4 separate regions of the Homo sapiens genome follow, and regions 1, 2 and 4 are each linked to region 3. The links are contacts of gene promoters, found by promoter capture Hi-C in human tissues and cell types (Jung and others, 2019). All regions are on one chromosome and are shown on one strand. Each heading gives the region's core, a stretch centred on a gene start or on the middle of the fragment in contact. The rest is flanking DNA. Distances are from core to core; before and after follow the strand shown. Region 1 overlaps SNTG1 (syntrophin gamma 1). Region 2 has its middle 270 kb from the start of SNTG1. Region 3 holds the start of SNTG1 (syntrophin gamma 1). Region 4 overlaps SNTG1 (syntrophin gamma 1).

Region 1 (4,613 bases), core at 1,932-4,431, 400 kb after region 3:
GTATATAGTTATTCATTACTTTTCATTTATATATGGTGTTTCTTTGACTGAATATACCATGATTTAATTCTTTGTTGTTCCGCTAATTAAAATTTGAACTTTTTAAAGCTCTTGGCTATTATGAATAGTTCTGACGACCAAGGTGTCAATCTCTTGATTAACCTATATATGCATTCTCTTGTACATAAATGTATGCAGGAGACTAATGGGTCTTAGGATATGAATATGTCCAATTTTAGCTACTGCCATTTTTCCAAAGTGATTGTACCTAGGGTTATATGAGATATTTAAGCACTGTTCAACACAATTAGAATTGTATATATTTCATTATTATTATTATTTAGCTGATTGGACTATATGTAGTGGTATTGCATTATAATTTTAATTCATATTTTCTCCATTTATTTTTTATTTCAAAAAAATTTCCTCTCTTCCATCTTTCTGTTTCAAGGAATTTTCTATTTTTTTATTTTCCTCTTAGCCTTTATGTCTGAAAAAAGTATTTTATTTATGAAATAAAAAATATTCCTGTGTTTTATTACTTGATTTTTGTTTTTAATCCTAATTTATATCTTCATTTTACTTTTCATCATCTTCTTAGCTCATTTTGAAACATTAGGTCATAATTTTCATCAATTTATGGGCATGTCCTATGCTAATGTTGCCTCTAAGTACATTATTCTGTCTTCGATGTTTTTCTTGTATCAGCTTTATATGTAATTCAATTATAACTTCTTTCTGTTCTTCATTTTTGTAGACATCATTTATTTATAGCTGAACTTTTAGGAAAGAGGTTACAAAAGGCTTGTTTTTCTAGCTTCATGGCATTAGAGATCTTTCTGTTGCCCTGTGAATTGTTTTAAAAGGCACTGTCCCACATTCTGAGATGTCCTGGATCTGTTCTAACATTTCAGCTTTCCCTTTGCCCATATTTTTCTTACTCCTTCAATGAAAATATATGTTGCTAGAGGTTTCTCTCAGCTCAGGGCTTTGTTCTGAAGAAAGCTTTGACTGGACAGTAAGTTCACTCACTCCAGTGATGCTGCAATTGCTTCCATTGTCTGTTTTGTTTTATCGTTGTCCTGCAAGGAATCTTTGGAAGCGCTCACAGGACTCAGATGGTCCCAGCACCTTCAGACTTTATCAGAGACCCCTTTCACTCTGGTATTAATTTGAAACAAAAACACTTCAAGTTTCATCTTTTGTTCTCAAATCAGTCCATTGTACACTCCAGAGAGTTCCTATTAGTGGGATTAGTTTTTCTTTATTTAGTTCTTCCATAGTCGTGAGAGGCTTCTCTGCTTCTCTCTGCTTCCTCCACTCAGACGCTAATGCCATGCAAGGCCTATAGAGTTCACTTGTATTTTCTTCTTGACCAAGCAAGCACATTGGGGTGTGTATAGCTATCTTACCTCCTTTTGTGTGGTCATTGTTGTAGATGTTGCCCATATTTTAATATTTTATGTATAAACCACTCTTCTCATTTTCAGAGGGATTTAAGAATGTTAAAAAATCTACATTGTCACCACCTCCATCTTCCTTCTGTTTTCTTTTAAGATTTGTAATATTCCAAGTTATATTAAATATATAGTCAGCTGGGTAGAGCACACTACCATTAATTTAATGTCATTGTTTCTAATGGATTATATGTCATACCTACTCATTTATGTGTTATTAAATGCTTAATAAAATAAAAGTTGCTATCATTTCCCAATTGTCCATAGATATTGGTGTCTTCTAACAACTGGCTCTTAAAGTCAGAAACGCTATTTAGACATTTTTGTTCTTGCTAACTTTCTGCCCTCGTTTTCCTGGCAAATGATTTCCAGAGCTAGATAGTTATACAAATGATGTTTTGTTTTTTTTTAAATGTTTCTATTCATAAACTAGATTTTTGTGTGTTATAACTAGGAAGCAATAGTTTTGATCTACACATCAAAGATGACTTTGAAAGGCTTTCCTGATAGAACACAAATGTGTCTTCCCAAATTCTAGGCATTTATAGTCATCTGGAAAGAGCTAATACTTAGAAGAAATAAAAAAAAAATTTTCTAAAGCTATTTTACAACATTCATAGCCCTTTACTGAATTTAATCAAGCTTAAAGTTCAGAAGATGAAGAAAGCCACAAGCTTTTGGTTATTGTTATATATTTGAAAGGGCACCTAGGTTTAAGTTTCTTTCGAAATCTGTGTATCATTTTCTAAAGCAAAAATGACAGGATTTCATGATAAGAGGGAAGCCGCGTATTTACTCTTTTCTCTCAGGTTTTTGAGTTCCTAAATATTAAATAGACTTTGCCTCTTTCTTTTTTAAGACAAAAAAAAAAAAATCACTGTTCTGTAAAAATGTACTGATTATTTCAAGAAGAGAAAGTCAGATGGTTTTGATTCCTTCGGCCCACATAGTTAAATGCAAAGCTAATGCTGGGAAAACAAATGAATTTCGTATCAGATGTTATTTTACTGTGCTCATACTTCAACGAGATGAGTGGGGGATTTTGACATGCAAGCTGCATTCATTAATTTAGGGCAAATTGATTGTATCTTTCTTGGTAATAAAACTTCAAAAAGCTACAGAAGAGGCAGGTAACATTGAGGGCTGGAACAAATATACCATATCTTAGTAGCGGTTTAGGTATGCAGCTATTTTAAAGAAGAGTGACATTGGCTTCTGAGAGACGAAGTGGAGATTAAAGGAAAATGTGTATCTAATTTAGCTTTAACCAGTTATCTTCCAAAAGTTTTTAAGACCTTAGAAGCTAAGAATTTTAATACTTAGTATCAAAAAAAACCTTTTTATTGCAACAACAAATTAATTCGCTGTCCGCAAACTCCATTGGTCAGTGTCCAAAAAATATTGGACTGAGACAATTAACTGGAAAACATTGTGTTTTAACTTCTGTGGTATTAATATCAAAAGTAAAAAAATTCAGTGTCTATGTGCGTAAAAATAGTCAAACAGCCCATTTTATTTAATCAATATTAATTGAAACTCAATCTGTGTTTGAGCACATCCACTTGCATATGCATCTATCTAGAAGATCCTCGTACATCTAAGCTTACAGTTTAAAATGACCATTGTCCTTCAAGTTGGTCGCCTGGGGAAGGAGTTTACCTACTCGAACCATGTGGCATTGTTTGAAATATCTGCTTTGTTTTATCTCAAACTTGTTACCTGGATTATTCTCTAGTTTTATTAAATAAAATAATTATTGATTCCTTGGAGTGTTATAAAATTTCAATTTCAAAGAATAAAGATTTTAATTGCTAACAAAAATTGCAGAAATGCATCCTGAATGCAGTTCTAAGAGTAGAATTTCAAGAAGCTTAAACAGTCGCAATTTTATTTAATATAAGTATCCTGGCTGGGCTTGGTGGCTCACGCATGTAATCCCAGCACTTTGGGAGGTCAAGGTGGATGGGTCACCTGAGGTCAGAAGTTCAAGACCAGTCTGACCAACATGGAGAAACCCTGTCTCTACTAAAAATACAAAATTAGCCAGGTGTGGTGGCGCATGCCTGTAATCCCAGCCACTCGGGAGGCTGAGGCAGGAGAATCGCTTGAACCTGGGAGGCAGAGGTTGCAATGAGCCGAGACCATGCCATTGCACTCCAACCTGGACAACAAGAGTGAAACTCCATCCCAAAATGAGTAAGTAAACAAATAAATAAATAAATAAATGTAAGTATCCTTTGAAAGTGAGTCTGTGAAGCTATTAAAGTGTTTTTACATAAGATTTGATATATTGGTTAAACAATTAGTATTGTGAGATAAGATATACATACCAGTATAAAATACACATTTCCCATATATAAAGAATGTATGTGTATAATTGAATCATGAAATGTCATAGCTAAATGGGGTCTTACAGTTAATCTATTTCAGCGTTCAATTGCCACCTCCTGCCTTTAGACAAATGAGGACAAAAGTCCAGAAAATTTTATTTCAAGATCACACAGCTACTTAAGGCCTGAGCCAAAATTAGGTCCTGACTTCTGATTCATTGCTTATTTCACTGAGGCATGATTCTTTCTAAAAATATTATGAGCCTTCCTATCAACTTAAAATTACTGTTTTTAAGTTCTGTTTTTGAAAATGTATTTCTTTCATTTTATACTTGGCTATCTAAGGTTTGTGTTCCCTCTGTGTGTTCTCCATCATCCCATTCATCTCACATAGTTAAGGGACTGTGGCTGCAGCCAAGCCTGAATAATTGGATACCTCTGTCAGCATTCATTATCAGGGCCTGCAGAACCCACACAGTGTGCCACTTTAGGAAAGGTTATGTTCCGTTGTAGACAGCAATATGTGTGCTGATCAACCACCAACTTCACATTTTAAATGCAGAGCCTAAGTGCTTTTATAATCATGTTTTGATGAGGTGTGTGTTTATGTATGGCTTTTGACAGAAAGCCTTTTCTTAACAGGATCCCTTGAGTGGATACATTGAGTAGGTTGTGTGCCTAGGGTTACGAATCATCTTTTACATACAAACGTCTTATTCTTAAAATATGTATTTTTGATATGCATAATGTGACTGAAAATATAAATGCTTTGGGCCTATGTACCTTGAAATTCTGAAAATATATTTCAAAATCTTAAATTGTTATC
Region 2 (4,314 bases), core at 1,107-3,606, 270 kb before region 3:
GTTTATTTGAATGTCTTGCTTCATTTTTTTTCCCCAGAATCCTCCTTGTTCTCTTTGTAGTCTATTTCCATTACTTTTATTTTATGTTCAACTTACAACTTAGATCTTTGCCTCCTTTTTTTTAGTCAATTTCTCCTCCCTAAGTTTTTACTCTTAGCTTGGCTGCCTAACAAAATACCATAGGCTGAATAGATTACACAATAGAAATGTATCTCTCACAATTCTGGAAACTGGGAAGGCCAAGATGAAGCTGCTAACATCGTAGGTTTCATTCTGAGCCCTTTCTTTTGGCTCCTGGGTGGTGCCTTCTCAATATGCACTCACATAACCTCCTCTTTGCCCCACTAAGAAAGAGAGCACCTGTAATCCCAGCACTTTGGGAGGCCGAGGCGGGTGGATCAAGAGGTCAGGAGATGGAGAACATCCTGGCTAACATGGTGAAACCCCGTCTCTAATAAAAATACAAAAAAATTAGCCAGGCGTGGTGGCGGGCGCCTGTGGTCCCAGCTACTCAGGAGGCTGAGGCAGGAGAATGGCCTGAACCCGGGAGGTGGAGCTTGCAGTGAGCTGAGATCGCGCCACTGCACTCCAGCCTGGGCGACAGAGCGAGACTCTGTCTCAAAAAAAAAAAAAAAAAAAAAAAAAGAAAAGAAAGAAAGAAAGAGAGAGAGCAAGCTCCAGGCTTTTCTTTTATTATGAGGACACTGATCCCATTATGGCGCCCCTTCCTCATGACCTCATCTAAACCTAATCATCTCCCAAAGGCCTAACTCCAAATACCATCTCATTGGCAGTGTGAATTTCAACATATGAATTGAGGGAGGACACAAATAGACACAAATATTTGGTTTGTAACACACATTTTTTAAAAGAGATAGGGTCTCTGTCACCCAGGCTGAGGAGCAGTGGCAGGATCAGGGCTCATTGCAACCTTTGACATCTTGGGCTCAGGCAATCCTCCCACTTTAGTCCCCTGAGTAGCTAGGACTACAGGCATGCACATGCACAACCACAATGCCTAGATAATTTTAATTTAATTTAATTTATTTTTTTTGGTAGAGACGTGGTCTTGCTGTTTTGAGGCTGATCTTAAACTCCTGGCCTCAATCAACCTTCCTGCCTCAGTCATCCAAAGCACTGCGATTGCAGCATGAGTCACCGTGATTGGCCCATAACATACTCTTTTGGGAATTTTTCTTATCCTCTCAATTTTCTGTATTTTAAATAACTCAAACTGTTATTGTTTCAGTCATCAATAATAGACTACAACTGAAATCTTTCTAGGCTTTGGCAACTAGAAAGAGACTAATCAAGTTAGTTTGGTCAGGTTAATGTGCCTGGTAAAGTGGGTGCATTAGATAGAGTGGCTGAGACGTTCCTTTATGGGGGGAATACTTTTTTAATGTTCAATTTTGTCATATTTATTTAATTGAGCATCAATCATTGCATGGGTGAATGAAATAGGTGATATTTAACACCTAATGCAACTATTGGTTGAGATGTTCTTTTATTGGAAGGGAGGTACATTTTTAGTGTTCAATTTGGTCATATTTACTTAATTGAGCTTCGATCATTGTGTGGGTGGGTGAATGAACTAGGGAATGTTTAACATCTCATGCAATTATTAAATTCTTTCATTCTGGGTTTGATGGAGCACCTCCCATGTCTGCAATATTATGAGTGACATAAAGGGACCCTGGGAGAATGATAGAGAAACAACAATTAAGACTAGAATTATACATTAAAAATGATATAATAAAAAATAAGATTAGACTAGACTGAAATGAAAACACTACAATGGATTCCTGTTGGTGAAATGTAGTTTAACTAGGATATTCTAAGACATGAAATATTTTTTTCCTCAGTTTTAAGATACTGAAAATAAACTGCTTATATTTTAGTGTGATAGTTTTGTAGTTGACTCAGATGTTAGTAACATTTAACAAAGTTCTAATTTTCTTTGATATATTTGAAATAATACATTTTATTAAAAATAGTTGGCAACAAGAAGTGTAGTCTTAAATATTAATAAACTATATGAATGTTTGTATAAAAATTTATTTCCTGCACTGCCTATTAGTTAGAAATAAGCACTCTGGGGTGTCTTATAAGCTTTCTTTGAGGTTAAATAATTAATGAAAATTTATCAAAGCTTAATTAAGTCATTGGCTTTAAATGATAAATGGAAATTCAAGCATTATCTCATCAATGTAATTCTCTGAGGTTTAATATATGCACACATATTAAAAATATTTCTTAAGCAACAAACAAGGATTTGATTACCTATTTTTAGCCTAGGAAAATGTTGACATTGCATCTCCAAGGAAGAAACTGAGTTAAATATAAAAGCTTTTGTAACATACTTGTTTCATATCTTTGTATCATTGATAATTACTTTTCCTTTATTATTAATGCAATGACTAAGTTCTTTATTCACATTCAACAGCAGGAAACTCAAGTTCAGCTTTCTCTGAAATAATTTTGTTTTCCTATAGAGAGAACCAGGGAAGGGCATATGCCTGTGTCACAGTCACAGTCTGCCAGCTCTTACTGGGGCTCTTTGTCTGGATTTCCCTTTCATCAGCTCTATCTCTGCCTGCTACCTCTCTATGCTGATGATACCTTATCCTTAGCCCCTAAATGCCCATGCACTCACCCTTTATTTCACAACTACATGCATATTTGGCAATGGATAACTGTTTTAAAAAGCTTTGTTAAAGTATTGGTGTGGTGAAGGGACACATATAAAAATTCTTACATGAAAAATGTGTAATGGTTCCTTCCTTCCTTCCTTCCTTCCTTCCTTCCTTCCTTCCTTCCTTCCTTCCTTCCTTTCTTCCGTTAGTCATTTATTGAGTGCCTACTATGGGAGAGCATTCTGGTAACATTCTATCAGCATCCATGAAGAGGAAATTATCATATAACAATTGTAGTGTTTGAGTCACAAGACTTAGGTCAAGAGCTGGGCTCCTCACTTGTAATATGTGTGACCTTTAGTTGGTAATGAGCATTTCATAAACTTTAATAATATCTTCCCTATTAGTGTAGGAATAATAATAACAGTAATAATAACCTATTAAGTGTGTTAAGAAAACTAAAGAAAATAATGCATAAGATATTCTCAGCATAATGCCTAGAATTAAGCATCCCATAAATGTTAGCTGGTATTATTATGTCTAGTTTTATTATTATAATAAAAATATGGTCATCATTATATAATAGATGCTAGAGAATCCCATTTGGTAATTGGCTTTTTCAGTTCTCTGTTAGTCTCTTGCATGAGTAAATTGAACAATTGTACTTGATATATCAGCACAGACATAGCCCACTCCTAGAGCAAAACACCACAGAAAACTAAAAAACTTTAGAATCAATGAATTAATCAGAAGAATTTCCCAGGTTGACTCAGAAAATATCACCAATCAGTCCATTCTGTCCAAGCAGGCATACTGTGGACATCCTGCACCTGCTGCAATAGTTGCTTCTAACAACCTCCTTTTTTTGTTCGTGTTCCACTGGAGTCCTTTGGGGTATTATCTCTTCTTCCAGTCTTGCTTCTGTCTTTGGATTAGCTGCTAAACTTTATTTTTCCACCCTCTCTCTGAAAACCTTGGCTCCAACTGTGCTCGTACACTTTCCAAGGGAACTCGGCTGCCACAAATAGGATGCTGTGCCATGTTGAAGTACCTGGTACTCACACCGTGTTTCCATCCTATGAACACAGACTTGTCCACCCTGCCATCAGCAAAAGAGGAAGGTGGTCAGGCTGTGAATACTTTTTTCCAATAAAGCCCAGTGTTTATTCAAGCAGTAAGCCTTGTTTTTTCCTGAAATCACCATAATTACCTCTTTACCATTTACGCATGAGAAAACTTTATATAATAAAAATCTGTTCCTATTTTATTATGTAATATTTATACCATAATATAGGACAAGGCCATTAGAAAGTTTGTGTTAAATAACAAAAGAGATAATTTTCCCACGAAAATATTACTGCAATTTAAATGCGACTAAAAACCTTCATATCTTGAAAATTGTCAAAACTTTAAGACAATATTTACCATATACTATAAGCCACTATTTTCACATCTGGCAGCCTATCTGGTTTCTTTCTTTTCTTTTACTTCTTTCGAATCAGTGGCCATTATAGAAGCAGGAACCTAGATTCACAGCACCATTGATTAATACGTTCCACTCTGTCAGTTTACATATTCATCAATTCTTTCCCACTTGTATTTTACTTCACAGTTCAGGAAAGAAAACATTCACATGCAATACCCTCAGATTGCTAGTTTAGAGATATCCTTTTGTATA
Region 3 (4,365 bases), core at 1,205-3,704:
AGTGGATTTTGCTTCTTGAAGAAAAGACATCAAACTATCATAATCATACTGGGACTGTCAGTTCACATTAATCAACTGTTTCTGTTTTCTTTTACTGGCAGGACAGAGGGAGGGGGATAGAAAGATTGAGAGAGACCGCATAAAACTCAATCAGTGCTCAGGAAGAAAAGAATCTGTTCTTCTAGGTCTGAATAATCAAGTGCATATGTTTTTAATTAGCAACATCTTTGTACTCTGTGCTTCATTTAAATGCTCTTATTTGGTGTGTTGATTTTCTGTGGTTATTCATGTTTCCGTATGTCCTGATAAAATAATTTAAACAATCAATTAAATCAACCTTAGTAAGCATAGAATTAAATACAGCAGAGAAAAGCTTCTTTGCTGACAAGGACGGATAGCCCCTGATTAGCATAACCCTCACACGGGGGGTTTGTTTTAATCATCTAACAAAAAGGGGGCATTTTCTGAAACACACACGACAGGTATTGTTTCTGCAGAAAAAAGAAGCACGTGTTTCACCACATTTGTCTAAGGAAAAGGGAAACTTCATTTACCATAACCTTAAGCAACGTTTTCACATGGACTGAAAAGCAAAAGACCCCCTTAAAAATTAGCCTCAAGCAGCAGATACTCTCTTTTTAGGTTTGTGTGTCTCCGTGAGGTCAGATGGATTCCCCAAACACGGTTTTAGAGAGAATCACAACCTTTAATAGATCCTCTGTTAAAAAAGACTGTTAGAGAAAGTTGACCAAGGGCTTCGTTCCACGGCGACCGTTTCCTGCGTGTGCAGCTCCACACAGCGACCGCGGCCTGCAATGTGCGGAGCACAGCGCGGCCCCTTCCAGCCGGAGCTCGCGAGCCGCGGTGGCGGCTGGTGGCCACCCCAGGGAAATAAAGCCGTTGCTGCTGCAGCAAAATGGCTCAAAGTCCAACCAAAGTCTGGCCTTTTCCTGTGAGTAAATACGCGGCCTGTTTGGTTTTCCGTCCCGAGTGATTCCCGGCTCAGTAACGTTTCTCCTCCAGGGAGCCCACTGGAACTCCACTGGCTGTGCCGCCTCCTCGCCCGTCCCCCGCGCGCGCCGCAGGCCGGTGCTTGGAGAGCGCAATGTCCCCGGGAGGGAAGATCCCCTACCTGGAATGGATGGTTCCAGACCAGCGGGAACGCGCTCTAATCCTTGATGGAAGCAAGCGTGGGAGGAAAGCACAACGTCTAGGACTTCCCTGTAGTGTCAGAACAGGAAGAAGAACCTGAGAAGTCGCCGGGGAAGGGAGGCCAGGAGCAGGCGTCCGGCCCCTTCCCACAGCCCGGGAGAAATTAGTGTTGCGCCCCGCCCCTCCCGGACCCCCGTCCCCACCACACACACCAGCGCCCCTCACCAGTCTTTCTCGAATTTCCTCTCATGTCTATCAATAACCTCCTTGTGCAGAAATCTACACTGCACAAGTTAGGAGTCTGCAAGGGCGGGCGGTGTTACAGTCTCGCTCTTTCCATTTTCCCCTTTTACTCCACATAGTTTCAAAGGTCCACATGGCCCTGGTTTTGACCAGTTTTCCAACAGTTTCAACGTTATGTATTTCAACTTCCCGTCTCAGTTCACTGGCGTCTGCACCCGTTGCCGAGTGTGGGTGGCTGAGCCCTGGGTGACAGCACTCGGGACCACGCACCCATACCCTTCTTTATGCTCGTTGTCAGCCAGTTGCCAAGAGCGGGAGTGAAGAGCCTGCAAGGCCCGGGAGAGCGCGGATTCCGGAGTAGGGAGGCGAGGGGGCAGCGTGGGAGACCAGAGGGAAAATGGGCTGAAAAGCCAACAAAAAAAACAACGTAAATTGGGCTTTGCTCTGGCTTTACAAAGGCAGAGATTGTCGAGCCCTCTGACTGTCTTTGTGCCTTCTTTATCCCGTCCTTTGTGAAATAAGCCGTTTTCTGCCCCCACTGCAGGAGCCTAGGCTGTGGGCGACTCGCTAGCACTGCCCTGGGCCTCCAAGCTGCCTGCTCGCTGAGCTCAGCGCTGACACTCACAGGAGCTGCGTTCGCCGGATCCTCTGAGAGGCTCTGCAACGATCCCGATCCAATTCAGCAGCGTTTTAAAAGGTAGCCGAGTGCAGATGCTTTTTCCTGTCTTTTTCATTCTTTCATTCTCTGTCTTTTAAAATTTTAACAATAACCTATCGTTTCCGCGTGGAGGGTCTAAGAATCTTCACTGGGTTTAATTTAGGAATTTCAAATTGGGTTTCTCAAAATTTGAATGTGGTCCCCTTAATTGGTAATCAAGATTGCGGAGTTTTCCAAAATATTCCTTTTCATCTTATGTAATTAAAGATCCACGAGCTTTCCAAAGAAGCTCTGGATTTTCCACGGTACAAATCTATATATTTTTTCTCTCTCTTCCTCTCTCTCTCTCTCTGCCTCTCTCGTGCGTGTATGTGCGCGCCCCTGTGCGTGCGTTTTCTTTCATTTCTGGCATTAGGAAACTCGTGCAGGGCCACTGAAAAGTCAGGGGAGGCTCAGATGTTATTTCCCAGGGATTCCTGTTTTTCCAGAAACGTTGTCACCAAATAAGTATGAGACTGTTAATTTGGAGAAACAATTAGCCCCTACAAAAAAAAAAAAGAAAGAAAAAAGAAAAAAAAAAGAACCGGAGGGGAGAAGGCTAGGGCGGAAGACAAGGAAGCTGCTGCTTGGATTCGCTGGTGGAGGAAAGTGCGACCTGGACCTGCGCTTAGGGGCTCCCGTCCCCTTACTTCAGCACCAGAGGGGATGGACAGCGTCTCCGGACTGAGCTGCAGCCACAGGGACGGAACTACGCTGCCGCCGCCGCTGTCCTTGCCGCCACTGTCGTCGCCACGGGCAGCTGGGCTACTTGCTCCTCGCAGCTAAAAGGCGGTGCCTCCTATTACCCCCTCGCCTCCCGGCCCCCTTCCTTAATGGATGAAAAGTACCCCTCCCTCTACACCTGCTGTACCTAAGGACAGGACTCTGAGGAGTACTCTTGCTCCACAGATTAAACTCTCAGCAGCAACTTCAAGAATCATTTTTCTATAGGGGTCTGGGAGGAATTCTGGAGGAGAGTAAAGTCGAAGTTCTTAGAAGCTCTGAGAAATCATGGGCCGTGCGGTAGGGGTTGAAATGCTCAAAGGTCCACACTTCTTGAAATAAACAGAATGGTCTTGAGTGGATTGCAACTGTTTTGGAAATAGCTTTGTGAAAAGAGGGTGGAGAGCTACTCAAAATTCTACGTTAGAGAGACTGAAAAGACATCTAATTTCATTGCTCGGCAGGTAAGTGATAGCGCTATTATTTTTGTTTTTTAAAATTCTAATGACTTGTCTTATGGTTTAACAGAAAGATCATAAGCAGTGTAATTTTTTCTGGGGTTAACGAGGAGACAAGCAATTTTGTTTTAAAATAATTGTTTCTGGATCATTGTGTGACAAGAAGAATCAAAATAACATACATGTTGCCTTACATAATTACAGTAAACTTTTAGCTGGCCATTTTTCTTATTGCTTATCTAATATCTTTTTGGATCTGGCATATCTTGTTTATTTTTTCCCAAAACTAATGCAATCGTTTGGCAAGATAATTTTGTTGTCTTATGTATGCCATAAAAAGTGATCCTGTCTGTGTTACATAGTATGCAAGACTAAAAAAGTTAAAATAGAGAGGGTTTAACCATGCCCTCTAACATATTTTATATTGTTATAATATACTAAACTATGCATGGGAACAAATACATGTATACATATACACCAGATTTCTCACTCCATGCCAACCTCCAAGTATACCTACACCTGTAGGATCTTACGTAAGGAGACACTCATATTTTTACTTAGCACCCTCTTTCCAGCCTTTGAAAGCTCAAGATTGCTTTCTCAAACCTGATCTGCCAGAAAGCAGAAAATGAGAAGCTTTAGTGTGCCTCTTTAGGAGAGCTGGATTTCAAAATCATTCTAACTTATTAGTTCTGCAAAATACATTTGTCAGTGAAATCCAGAAAGTGATAGGGACCAGTAGGTTCCCGAAAAACCATAAACTTTAAAATGCTAATTAAATCTGTTTTCTGTTGATTCTTATTTCTAGTTTTCCCCTGGAGCTTTAAAATTACAATCTTTCACAGTGACCTTGATAAGCATTCTGCTTTAATAAAAAGGGTTCACTGGGCAAAAGCAGTTACACAAATTTGTAACCCGTGCCTGACATTTCACTAAGAATCCGATCAATTCCAATGAGTACATTCAGTTCAGTGAAGAGTTTTGACTTGCAAGGATGGAATTTTACAGTCATGTAAATACATGTGATGAGATATTCATAATCAACTCTGTGAAAAGAGTCTACCCCTTTGAAAAATTACAGGAGATCTTTAG
Region 4 (4,992 bases), core at 471-2,970, 480 kb after region 3:
TCACAATCCACAAGATTTATCTAGGGGAAATATTTAATAGATTATATGATGCATTTGGTTACTACTGATGATGGCTAATCTCTTTCTTTCAAAGTCAATAGTAATAATCTATCAGTTCAGTGACAGCATGGTGATACCTCCTACTCTGTTTTGCCACACTTACCTGATAAAGCATTAATTAATCTTGTATAATTAAAAAGAAATGCCAAAGAAAGATATAATAGTTTACTCTTCCAAAGGCTGAGATGAGTAATTTTGAGGAGTACAAAGTCTTCTATTTTGGAATTAATCATTCATCTTACTTTGACGTCTCATTTACTTATCCATTATATTTTGGCTCTGCATTGCTTTGTTTTATAGTGTCTGGGTGTCAACTTTCCGTGACATATCTTAGTTTGGTTAGGTGTATCACGTAATGAAAACAAAACACTCCAGAATAATTTTACAAAAACATCTATATGTATTTAAATCTACATTCATCATTTAGGTATTATAGTGACCATAGATGAATCTATTTTAGATATTTTATACATTGATTTTTCTTAATATTATTCACTCTGACAAATAGCTTGCTTCCTTACATCATATTGTGAATAAAATTTTAAGTTCCAGAGAGAATTATTCATGCATGTAGCTTTTTAATTAAAAAGAGAGAGATTAGTCAATCTTTTTTCATGAGGTAACCATATGAAAGGCAACTTTTAATTGCTCTTTTTGAAGTTTCTTTCTCAATTGCAAACTCAGGTTTCACAATGCATGTTGGGAATGAGCGAGAAGAGGTTGATCTGATGATACATGGAGTCTGAATGCCTGCTGGCGGGGTGGAAAGGTGCCTGGAAATGCACACTCAATCACACTGAATGATGGCAGGATATTTATACTTCCTAAAAGCTGGGGATTAAGACTTTTTTCATCTGTTCATTTTCCTCTCTTCAGTATACCCTGGAGCTCTTGTTCCTTACAAGTGGTTGTAAACACAGTTTTCCCACAAGTTCTGCTTCACGATTTCCTCCACTATATTAGTGTTCTCTCTTACATGCCATGCTGTGCCTAATGGCTTACCATTTCTGTGTCTTTTCAGACGACATCCTTTGTGGTGCCACAGCACATGGATTTCAGAACCGCCTGTGAGGAGGTGAGTACAGAGCTTTCTGCTTTTCAAACAGGGAAAACAGAATATAAGCGGGAAACACTTGGCTCCAATTTATATAGGGAAATTCTGCTTTTGGCAGAAAATGGAGAGAGGAGGATGGGCTCTTTTTCCTTCCAGATTACGTTCTCCTTCTGCAAAGATAGAAAACCTAACTGTGCATGGAAAGCCTTGGACTTTAACTCTTTCTTTAGGAAGACTGGAGCATATTGAATATAATTGAGTTGCTCCTCTTCACCAACTCTGCACATTTCAGGTAGTGGAAGTGTTGGAAAGAATTCTTTTCACATAAATGGTAATAAATTAGAAGACATCTAAGGTTCCTTTCAGCCCTAAAATTCTATGATTTTATGATTCTGATAGTATTTAAGTAATTCAATATTATTTAAGTATTAATACACAAGAATTTAGATTCTCTGTAGAGCTGTCATCACATTTCAGCACGAGTTAAAGTGGCACATTAGTATTTCAAGGATGATAAACAGTGTTCAAGTTTACAGTTCAATAGTGCATGGATGTGGGCCCCCAGGGAATACAACCATTCCATCTTAGGAAGAAAAACTAACTTTTTTTTTTTTTTTTACTAAATATGTAACATTCAAAGTATTGTGTTTTCATTCTTCAGGCAAAATACAAATACTTGCAGCTTAAAAATGTTTTATATTTGTTTAAAAGGTTTAAAGCATTTTTTTATTGTATATAAACAACTCAACAAAAACCAACCATAACTGCTTACCTCTGGTAGTGTTAAAATCAAACTAGGGAAAGACTTCAGTTCTTAACCTTGTGAAGACTGTTACTTTAGTGAAATGTCATGTGTTTACAGTTCTTGCATGAATTTGTGGAAAGTAACTCCTTATTTTCTTCTAAAGCAATTGAAAAAATATATATTTAAAAATACTTGTCACTGTTGGTAAGAAGTTCAGAATATAAATATAAGGTTTTTCAGAAAACTAATAAATTGCTTTTATATTTCTATTCTTATGTTTCTACTTTTAATGCTTTAAGCATAACATTTTAAACATATCTCTATGCTAATACTCATCAAATTACAAGGCAGTTTTTTTGTTTACAAACCTTTCTCATGTGCTACACTGAATACTATAAGGTCAGAGTGTGTACATTATTCATCTTTTTAACTTAGCACTTATTGGTTCATATATTTTTAAAAACTGAATTAATGTTCTAGAAGCTTTGTATTTTAAATTTTAATTGTCTAATTTCTGTTTTTTTTTTTTTTTTTAATGGAGTCTCACTCTGTCGCCCAGGCTGGAGTGCAGTGGCGCGATCTCGGCTCACTGCAAGCTCTGCCTCCTGGGTTCATGCCATTCTCCAGCCTCAGCCTCCGAAGTAGCTGGGACTACAGGTGCCTGCCACCACGCCAGGCTAATTTTTTTATTTTGTATTTTTGTATTAGAGACGAGGTTTCACCGTGTTAGCCAGGAAGATCTCGATCTCCTGACCTCGTGATCCACCCGACTCGGCCTCCCAAAGTGCTGGGATTACAGGCGTGAGCCACTGTGCCCGGCCCATTTCTGGTTTTAATTGCATACTTAATTTTAAAAGTAGCAAGTCTTCTATTTCCATTAATGTGCAACCTTATGTCTTGAGTAGTAAGGCATTCATTGAAACCCAGTGGATATTTGTGTGAATGAGATACTTATGGGACACATGACATTCATATGGTACAGATTGGACAGTGGTCAAATACTATTTAACAAATGGTTTATTTTGGATTTCAGAGGCTGGAAAGATTTACAAGAGCTTTTTGTAAACAAAATTGTTTTGATGTACTAATTTGGGATATTTCTCAAATTCTATTAAGATACAGAAGATTTATTTAATTGGTAATACTGTTATTACCATACTAGCTCTTGTAAATTAGTAATCCTTAGTACTGAAAAGAGTGACAACCTGTTACTGAGATAACAATATAGAAGAGGAAATTAAATCACTCATGTGAGATATAGCTAAATATTGCTGAAGTCACTATATGTGATGCCAAAAGACAATAGTGATCAATTTTGGGGTAAATATTTACTTAATGGAATCCAAGTGTTCAGGAAAGTGAGGACTCATCTTTGAATAGAATGATTTCAGAAGGCTTCAAAGAGAAGGGAGTCTGGTGCCAGGACTCGAATAATGGCTAGAATTTAGTTAAGGAAAAGGCCATGATCAAAAGTAATCCAGGAATGGGAACGTAAATGATAAGATGCAGTTTGAAGCACTTTGCATAAAAGAACATTTAGTACACTACTGCTACAATGCAGTACAGTATAAGACAAAACAAATTAAATCGTATTTGGCACTTGAAACATGGAAATACTGTGGATACTTGCAAGAAAATTTGCAGTCCATTTTATTATCTCTGCCTACTTTTTGTAGTTTGTCATTTCTTATATCTGATATTGTGAGTATATTTCAAAATTAATAGACCTTAAATTTTAAAGTTTCATGAAAATACATTTTGTACATTTTGAAAGACTAGAATATAAATTAAAAAGGCCTTAACTTTTAAGTAGAAAATGGATGATATTCTACTTTTATAAAGATCCAACCTAGGTCCTATGTTTAAGAAACTACAAATTCTTAATAAGTTTAAATGTGAGAGAAGTTAAATGTGAGATTTGTTTAAAGAGTAAACCCATGCAAATTCATAAACATTTTCTTGATTTGCAGAAAGCATAGCTAATTAATAATTTAAATATGTTGCCTTTTAGGCAATTAGGAAGTATTGCTTTTCAATAATTCCTTTAAGCAAATAGTCTCCAATGTGGATTTTGTAAAAAGTTCCATCTAGAATCGTCCATCAGTCAGAGAAGAAGAATATTTTACTTATATCATTTTTAAATGAATCATCCCTTTAAAATTATGTTTGGTGTATATTTTATAAAGTACAAAATACATTCATACAGTATCTATATCACATGCATTCCTTTATTTATGTGCAATGGTATGCAAAGTCAACGAAGTTTGGAGACAAATGATGTTACATTAATAAAAAGAAAGAAGAAGATTCATGTCTTTAGTTTATATTAAAATTTGAGACCAATAATTATGTAGGTGATTTTCGATATCTAAACAATTTGGGTCCACAGATCTGTAAAGACTTTGCAGGTGGGGCTGTTTTAGGTTTGCAGCACCAACCTGCAGCTGCTCCCATGATTCGGTCTCTCATTTTTAGCTCTTAAAGCACTTCAGGAAGGAGTGGAGATCAAACTTCTTCCTCTATCAGACAGTCTCCTAGTAGCGTGGCTTTGGGGAAGATCATCCTGTAAGTTCCAGAGTAGTCTCTTACTCGTTTTTTCTCTCTAGTGGTCATTGCTTCAATACAAGAAGAATAGCTGCTTCAAGATTATGTTGTTCTTTTCAAAATTATCCACACCCCATTAGGAGATTATTGATAACCATAATGCTCTCCAGTGAAAGATGCCAATAGCCATGTCATTGTATACAGGACAACTGGGGGTGGCATTCTTAAATAATCTGTGTATGCGGGATAGCAGAGTGTGTGGTGAAGAGCCTAGCTGCCTGTGTTGAATTCTAGCCTTTTCTTCCTCTAGGTCCCTCTGCACTTGTCTAATCTGTAAAGGCAGATGGTTGCGTTAATTTTTGTTAAGGGAGAAAAATAAATTAATACTTCTTGTCACACAGTGAGCACTATATAAATAATTATTATTAAACAACAAATAAATGAAATATATGACCACATTTCATGAGTGAGGATCTCAGTCCAGCAATGCTGATTCTAATCAAGACAGTGCCCTGAAATGGAGTTTATCCTTCTTCTTGCATCTCTCAGAGGAGCTCTGAATCTAATGCACCTGTTTATTAGTTCCCAA

Evidence for each region. The method cuts DNA at HindIII sites, captures the fragments that hold promoters and counts their contacts. A contact is called where the count stands out against the background at its distance.
Region 1: a contact is called between a fragment that was not itself captured here and the fragment with the promoter of SNTG1 in region 3, in 2 of the 25 tissues and cell types used here (H1 embryonic stem cells and hippocampus).
Region 2: a fragment that was not itself captured here is called in contact with the fragment with the promoter of SNTG1 in region 3 in 1 of the 25 tissues and cell types used here (H1 embryonic stem cells).
Region 4: a contact is called between a fragment that was not itself captured here and the fragment with the promoter of SNTG1 in region 3, in 1 of the 25 tissues and cell types used here (mesendoderm cells).

The regions. Positions count from the first base shown.
Region 1 is chr8:50,307,043-50,311,655 of GRCh38, forward strand. All of the region lies in intron 2 of SNTG1 (syntrophin gamma 1), which reads left to right. Among named protein-coding and RNA genes, the nearest start is that of SNTG1, 400 kb to the left of the region's middle. The HindIII fragment of the contact is 3,258 bases long and covers 1,553-4,613 here.
Region 2 is chr8:49,642,580-49,646,893 of GRCh38, forward strand. No RefSeq gene overlaps it. Among named protein-coding and RNA genes, the nearest start is that of SNTG1, 270 kb to the right of the region's middle. The HindIII fragment of the contact is 5,277 bases long and covers 1-4,314 here.
Region 3 is chr8:49,908,953-49,913,317 of GRCh38, forward strand. It overlaps SNTG1 (syntrophin gamma 1), which reads left to right and starts at 2,455. Exons shown (of 19, transcript NM_018967.5): 1 at 2,455-3,279. RefSeq lists an enhancer at 1,360-2,304. The HindIII fragment of the contact is 7,737 bases long and covers 1-4,365 here.
Region 4 is chr8:50,393,131-50,398,122 of GRCh38, forward strand. It overlaps SNTG1 (syntrophin gamma 1), which reads left to right. Exons shown (of 19, transcript NM_018967.5): 3 at 1,082-1,135. The coding sequence starts at 1,109. Among named protein-coding and RNA genes, the nearest start is that of SNTG1, 480 kb to the left of the region's middle. The HindIII fragment of the contact is 5,713 bases long and covers 1-4,577 here.